2 separate regions of the Homo sapiens genome follow, and region 2 is linked to region 1. The links are contacts of gene promoters, found by promoter capture Hi-C in blood cells and fetal thymus (Javierre and others, 2016). All regions are on one chromosome and are shown on one strand. The core of a region is centred on a gene start or on the middle of the fragment in contact, and the rest is flanking DNA. Distances in the headings are between cores, read along the strand shown. Region 1 holds the start of GPR156 (G protein-coupled receptor 156). Region 2 overlaps PLA1A (phospholipase A1 member A).

What was found. The method cuts DNA at HindIII sites, captures the fragments that hold promoters and counts their contacts. A CHiCAGO score of 5 or more calls a contact.
Region 2: a fragment that was not itself captured here is called in contact with the fragment with the promoter of GPR156 in region 1 in 1 of 17 cell types (neutrophils); the score reaches 5.2 in neutrophils.

The regions. Positions count from the first base shown.
Region 1 is chr3:120,283,259-120,286,784 of GRCh38, reverse strand. It overlaps GPR156 (G protein-coupled receptor 156), which reads left to right and starts at 1,563. Exons shown (of 10, transcript NM_153002.3): 1 at 1,563-1,756. LOC124909418 (a long non-coding RNA gene) reads right to left here and starts at 1,629. Exons shown (of 2, transcript XR_007096029.1): 1 at 1-1,629. The HindIII fragment of the contact is 9,811 bases long and covers 80-3,526 here.
Region 2 is chr3:119,623,230-119,626,755 of GRCh38, reverse strand. PLA1A (phospholipase A1 member A) reads right to left here. Exons shown (of 11, transcript NM_015900.4): 9 at 1,524-1,632. Among named protein-coding and RNA genes, the nearest start is that of PLA1A, 27 kb to the right of the region's middle. RefSeq lists an enhancer at 2,432-2,631. The HindIII fragment of the contact is 5,078 bases long and covers 1-3,526 here.

The sequences.
Region 1 (3,526 bases), core at 314-2,813:
TTGGTGGTGGGGACAGATAGGAGGCAAGAAAATCAGTTAGGAAATTATTGAAACAATTCAGCCCCAGATAATCGAAGCTTATCAAGAGCAGCAGTGTGAGAATGCAGAGAAGTGGACAGTTGCCAGAAACATCTCAGAGGTAAACATGGCAGGCCTGGAAGATGAAAACCTTCAGTGCCTGGCAACTGAGGGGTTGGAAATACTCCAATCTCAGAAAAGAGAATACTGGGATTGGAGGTGGGGGCCAAGCTGGGAGAAAGATTTCAATGTCTTGCAGAATATAGAGAGGGGTTGATGAGAATAACAGCCGAAGAGCCCAGGGGAATTCCCAGGTTAAAAAAAAAAAGCCCCACAGAGATCAGAAGGGCAAATCCTCAATCTAGAGCCACAGAAGTGAAGATTTGGCTCTAGACTCTGAAGTCAGCTCTCCTACGGAAAAAAGATGGACCCAGGCCTTTTTAACTCAGGCAGCCCCCATGGAGGAGAGAGATGGTCCTCCTCAGTTTCTGCACGTTCCAAATGAAAGGGTCCTTCTGTGTAGAATGAGAGATCTGGAGAGTCCTGGGTAAAATCTCAGACATAATTCTTTCTTCTGAGAAACCAGCTTTTTGCTTACTGCCTTGAGGAAAACCTTGTCTATCTTTCTTTCTTCCTCTTGTTTTCCCCCTCAGTAGAATCCTGTGAAAAGAAGTCTTTGGGTATCACAATGTGTAAAACAGTTAAGAATGTAGCCACTGTCTTGTCACAGTGGGGTCTGCGGACCTGGCCTCTCTCTTCCCGTCCTCTACAACCAAAGATTTCCTCTGCGCAGTTGTAAAAATGTGGAATGTCCTAATGCACATAAATAGGTCTGAGATTTTAAAATAAATGAAACAAATATAATATGGAAAGTCTAAGTGGATTCCCAAGACCATTTCCAGGTCTCCCCTCTATGTTTCTCCTTGAGGGTGTCTTAAACACAACATCTCACACATATTTTTAAGCGGAAGACAGTGGGCTGGGTGCGAACATCTTGTTTGTGGCCTCCTGTAAGCATTCTTGGAAAAAGAAACGTACTTGTCTTTCTGATTATAAAATAAGCAAAAGCTCAACGTAAAGAATTTGGCAACTCCAGAGAGTATAAAATAAGAAAACTAATTGGTAACTCCGACGCCACTCCAGAAATAAAAATGAGCATTCGCGGAGAATCCTTCCAGTCTCCTTACCGAGGCCGGCTAGGGACCTGAATCTGAAGCTCCTCGCCCCGGGGCCAGCTCCTGCGGCAGCCGCTGGCTCGAGGCCCGGGAAGGGGCGCTGAGGGGAAGGCGCCCCCCAGGGAAGGTCTCTGAGGAGACGGCCGGAGGCGGGGCCGCCCCAGGGGACTCGGCGGCGACGCAAGGAGAAAGATCCGAGGAGCTGGAGGAGCCGTGAGGCGCGTGGAGTCTGCAAGGTCCCGGAGCCCTCCCGGCCCTCGCGGGAGAGCAGGGTCGAGGCGCGCCACGCGGGCGGCGCCAGGGAGGGGCGGGCAGGCGTGGCTCAGCCAGTGCCCCGGCCAGAGGCGCCCGGCGCCCCGCGCACACCTCAGAGGCCTGCGCCGCCGTCCCGCCGCCTCCACGCCAGGCTCCCGGCGCGGCGATGGGCGCGGGCCCCTGTCTCTGCCCCGGCCCGCCCCTTCCCGCCCCTTCCAGCCCCGCGAACGCGCGAGACGCCGGGGGACCGTGGGCGTCCTGCACATAGCAGCGGGCTTGGCGCTTCTCGGCGGTCCGACGCTGATGAGGTGAGCACAGCGACCTTAAGGATCCACAAAACTTCAAACACTTAATTATTAAGTGAAAGTGGAAAGGGGGAGGGGCTTTCTCTCCCTTTCCAGAATCTGGGCAGTTTGTTTGGAACCGGTAAAGAAACTCTCATAGGAACTTGAGGTGAGCAGGGGTCACGCATCAGGGATGCGAGTGGCAATTTCAGTGGAAGAGACGGGAGAGTACTGTAATTTGGTGTGAAGATGGGGCCGTGGGTTTTCTGCTGAATAAGCGACCGGCTGTGCTGAAAATGAGAGATCCCGAAACAGTTTCCCACCGCCTGTAGACTTTCCAGAGTCTCCTCACGCCGAATCTGCTTTGCAGGGCATGTTCACCCCCAGGGTGTAGAGTGGCGGGCACGATGGGCTCCCCCATGGAGATTGCAAAGTCCTGAAAAGGGACAATTGTATTGCACTGCGTCTGTTGAACTGCCTTGCTTCTGGGCATGAGGGAGTCACCTGGAAGCTGCAACATCCTTGTACCCTGGCAAGCAGCCCTTTCCAAGTTAGCTCTGTCAGAAACTAGAGGCCTCTAGGTAGAACTCAAGGTATCCATGTACTCGTGAAGAATACAAACCTTGAGGTTTTTAAAATCGAATTTTGTTAAGATTTCAGGATAGAAATCTGGGAAGAGAAGTCATGGCATGGCATAACTTACCCCTTTGTTAGTTTTCTAGGTACATGCATGCTTGAATTAGAGGTAAATGATGCCCTAGCCTATCATAAAATGTCTTTCCTGGTGTAGTTCTTTAAACCAGAATATGGAGGATAACATTACATTTTTGCATCCTAGATAAAAGGGAAAGATTTTCAGATGGGGCTTACACAGCGGGAGAAATTGTTGATATAGTTGTATTAGGCAGCAAGGCCTGCAAAGAAAAACTTCTTTTTCTCCACCAGTGGCTGAATTCTGCACAGAATGTCTCCTCGCAGTCTGGGTAGCAGCCCGGCTTGCAAAAACAGTGCTTCTTTCATTGCTGCAGGTGGGGCAAATGCGCTTGCGGATAAATGGCTGGGGAAGCGTTTGCTTACAGGTTAAGGCAATTTGAGTCTGGAGAATAAAGTGCTTTAGCAGGCTGTGCTTGAGTTAGGTGTCCCTTGTGAGGAATAGAGGTGGCTTTCTGGTCCCCATTTTGCCAGCCTAATTCCCCTTCAGGGACACTACTGTCTCTGGAATGTTCCCTCTGTTTCCCCTTCTCTTCCACCCCCAGCTTTTAGCTTCTCCCCATTCCCCAGTAAAGTCTAGAATTGAGCCTGGTCAGAGTCAAAGTTCTGATAGCCTAGGGATATAGAACTTCAAGCCTGGTGAAGGCAGAAATGAGACCTAGGAGAGACCCAAGATGGGTGAGATGAAACAACTTTCAGCCTAGAAGGCTCTCAAAAGAGTGGAAAAATAATGATTGAGGGAAACAGATTCTCTGGAAAGGAGAATAGGTGCTTAAGTGTTTGTTTTCAGCTGAGGGTTTTAATATTTCCATTTTTGTTGTTTAACCATAAGGGAATTTCCATTATAGGGTAGGAGGAGGATGAGGCCTTCTCTGAAAACTGCATCCTTCTCCTTGAATTTGCATTTTATTCCATTCTTATGTAGGTTTCAGAGATTAATTGGGGGAAGGGGGAGAGAGGAAAGAAGCCAGAGGCTCTGACATGCTGCAGAAACAGTGCAACGTGGACTGACTTGGGCTGCAAAGGTGGATTTGGGGGTTGAAAGAAATGTTCTACATTTAGTTGAAAAAAAAAAATCAGAGC
Region 2 (3,526 bases), core at 651-3,150, 660 kb after region 1:
AGTGGCCACGGTTTTGGGAGTGAAATGCACTCCTTCCAGCAGAAACTTGTAGTGCCTCACAGCAGAGTTCATGTCCAACATCCCAACCCGAGAAATATCTCCAAACTCACATCTGATCTCATCACTGTCCTGTTTAAAACTCCCAGTGGCTCTCCAAACTACTCTCAGGATAAAAACCTGTCCTTCAAGGCCTGGCAGGGTCTGGCTCTGACTTGCCTCTCCAGCCTCACAGCATCCCCACAACCCCAAATCTGTGCTCCAGACACACCAGAGGTGTCACATTCTCTCTAAGCCTGGCCTGGGTAGCTCCTGGAAAGCCTGCTCATCATTTCCTTGGACTCAGTCAGACTCTGTCTTCTATGCTGTCACTCTCAGGGCATTGCTCACTCATTTAAGTGTGTGTGCACTGGTCATTTCCCTGTTTGCTCTGGACTGATCTATTCCCCTGCAGGTTCCCCCACCAACAGGTTCCAGTGAGGTCTAACCCAGTGGAAGCATGCTCAGGTGGGTGGCTGCTTTGGGCAGGGGTTCCAGAGGGGCCGCACTTCCCATGGGTTCAGCTCCTGCCAAGCAGCCTTCCCTGTGGACCCAGCTTTGCCAACTCCACTCCTGCTTTGTCCCTCTAGCCTAGGGTTGTATTGGCTCCTGTTGTGATTAATCTCTGCATTGTGTCCCCATCTCTGTTTTCCAGCTCATCCAACACACTTGTAATGAGTTCACTGTGCTAAATTCCTTCTCTTGGACCTCCTCTGTTTTCCTGACCGGACTCTCACTGAGACAGTGACATTATCTGACAATCTGTCTCCCGCTGGCTTGTGAATAACTAACCGGTTGCTTTTTAAAGAAGCATGCACCATGGCTGCTGACTTCCTATCCCCTGCAGGCTGTGGCTCCCTACAGTTGGGGTTCCTTGCCCTCTCACTTCAAGCGTAGTCCCACCAGCCCCCAAGCCCAAGTCTGCCCCAACAAAGGAAGGGAATGACTACCCCCAGTTTCAGGAATCACCCAGCACCAAGCCCTCCTGGCCGCTAGTCTGGCCCTCAGCTCGCACTCCGTTGCTGACTGACCCTGTGCCTCAGATTCCATTCTGGTAACTGACCCAGAACTGCTCTCCTTTCCCAGGAGTGGGTGCTCTCCAGGCTCTGGCTAGCCCTTCCTGGGCTGGTGACTGAGGCCCTCCTCCCTACTGACATCCCTGATACCCGCACTGTCTGGATTCCAGAGTACTGTTTCCTCTCAGGGACCTGATTCCTATGTCCTCTCCATCTGTTGGGACATGCCATCCCTGCTGCCTGCTTGCCCTGCCTACTCTCATCTGAATCTGCTATACTTGGACCCACTACTGAACAGCTCCTCAGCATGTGTCTGTGGCTGGATCTATAGTAGGTGCTGCCCCCAGCCAAGCCGGCTGGGCCCATGCATCAGCAATCACACAGTCCCTGACCTGGGATGTCCATGTGTGTAAAATGAAAAAGTAACCAACTCCTAAGGGGAGGAGTCAACCAGGTGGGACACTTACGTACATGGTGATCTTAGATGAAGAGGTGATGTTACTGCTAAGGAAGGTAACCTCGATGTTGGTGTCCTTGTTTCTCAGTTCCTTCAAGTGAAACTCCACGAGGCTGTGATGCACTAGGAAACCAAAGCACAACAGAGACTGGCCAGAGGGCAGAAGGTGCAATGGGCAAAAACCCCAGAGAGCAGCAGTGTGGTTGGGAATCTTGGCTCTATCTCTTAGTGGCTGTGTGCCCAGGAGCAGATCACCTATAATCTCAGGTCCTCAGTTTCCTCAAGTGCAAATTGAGGATAATAAAAATAGACACTTGGCTGGGCGCAGTGGTTCACGCCTGTAATCCCAGCACTTTGGGAGGCCGAGGCGAGTGGATCACCTGAGGTCAGGAGTTTGAGACCAGTCTGACCAACATGGTGAAACCCCATCTCTACTAAAAATATAAAAATTAGCCAGGTGTGGTGGCGGGTGCCTGTAATCCCAGCTACTCAGGAGGCTGAGACAGGAGAATCGCTTGAACTCAGGAGGCAGAGTTTGCAGTGAGCAGAAATTGCACCACTGCACTCCAGCCTGGGCGGCAGAGCAAGACTCCGTCTAAAAAAAAAAAAAAATAGATACCCTAGGTCTGAAATAAGTGGGTTAATATGTATGAACTTCTCAGGACAGTGCCTGTGCCTAGGAAGCATTCAGTAATGTTAGTTTTTGTTATTTTGTAATACTAATGTTTTACTTCCCCTTGTTTGCTGACATATTCATGGTGGGATGATCTTGAATGAGCCAAAATGCATCTATCATATACGGCTATCTTTTGTTTGTGTCCCCTCCGAGTTCATGTTTAAACTGAATGCTCTGTGCAACAGTACTGAGAGGTGGGGCCTTTGAGGGAAGGGATTAAGTCATGAAGGCTCTACTATCATGAATGAAATAGTGCCTTATAGAAGGGCTCAAGGGAATTGGCAGGGCCCTTATTTGACCTCCTGCGTTCTGCTGTGTGTGAACACGGTATCTGTCCCCTCTGGAGAATGCAACAGCAAAGCACCTTCTTGGGAGCAGAAAGTGCAACCCTTATAGACATGGAGTGCCGGCGCCTTGATCTGGGACTTCCCAGCCTCTAGAGCTGTGGGAAAATAAATTTCTGAGCTTTGTAAGTTACCCAGTCTCAGGTACTGTGTCATAGTAGCACAAGTAGACTAAGACATAAACTAAAGGTTTAACTCATAAGGTCAGGCGTGGTGGCTCACTCCTGTAATCGCAGCACTTTGGGAGGCCAAGGCGGGTGGATCACCTGAGGTCAGGAGTTTGAGACCAGCCTAGCCAATATGGTGAAACCCTGTCTCTACTAAAAATATAAAAATTAGCCAGGCATGGTGGCAGGCACCTGTAACCCCAGCTACTAAGGAGGCTGAGGCAGGAGAAGCATTTGAACCCGGGAGGCAGAGGTTGCAGTGAGCCGAGATGGTGCCGTTGCATTACAGCCTGGGTGACAAGAGTGAAACTCTGTCTCAAAAAAAAAAAAAAAAAAAAAAAAGAAAGAGAGAATTAACTCATTAAATACAGCAACGGCCCTGCTCCCTCTCCACACACCCAGCGTCAGGGAAGCAGGCTGTGTGTGTAGGAGACTGCTCCTCTCCCTGCAGCCGCTGGTTACCTATGTGGCATCCAGACTCTCCCTTGAGCAGCATGGACACTGGAGCTCTCAAAGTGAGTGTCGCCAACATAGACTGGGTGTACAGCCTGGGCCATGGTGATACCCCTGGGACCTGCTGTCCCTCTGGCAAGAGAAGGTAAGAAAGATTACAGGCCAGGCATAGTGGCTCATGCCTGAAATCCTAGTACTTTGGGAGGCCAAGGTGGGCAGATCACTTGAGCCCAGGAGTTCAAGACCAGCCTGGGCCACATGGCAAGACCCAGTCTCTACAAAAAAACAAAAACAAAAAATTAGTTGGGCATGTGGTGTGTACCTGTAGTCCCAGCTATTTGGGAGGCTGAGGTGGGAGGATCACCTGAGCATGGGAG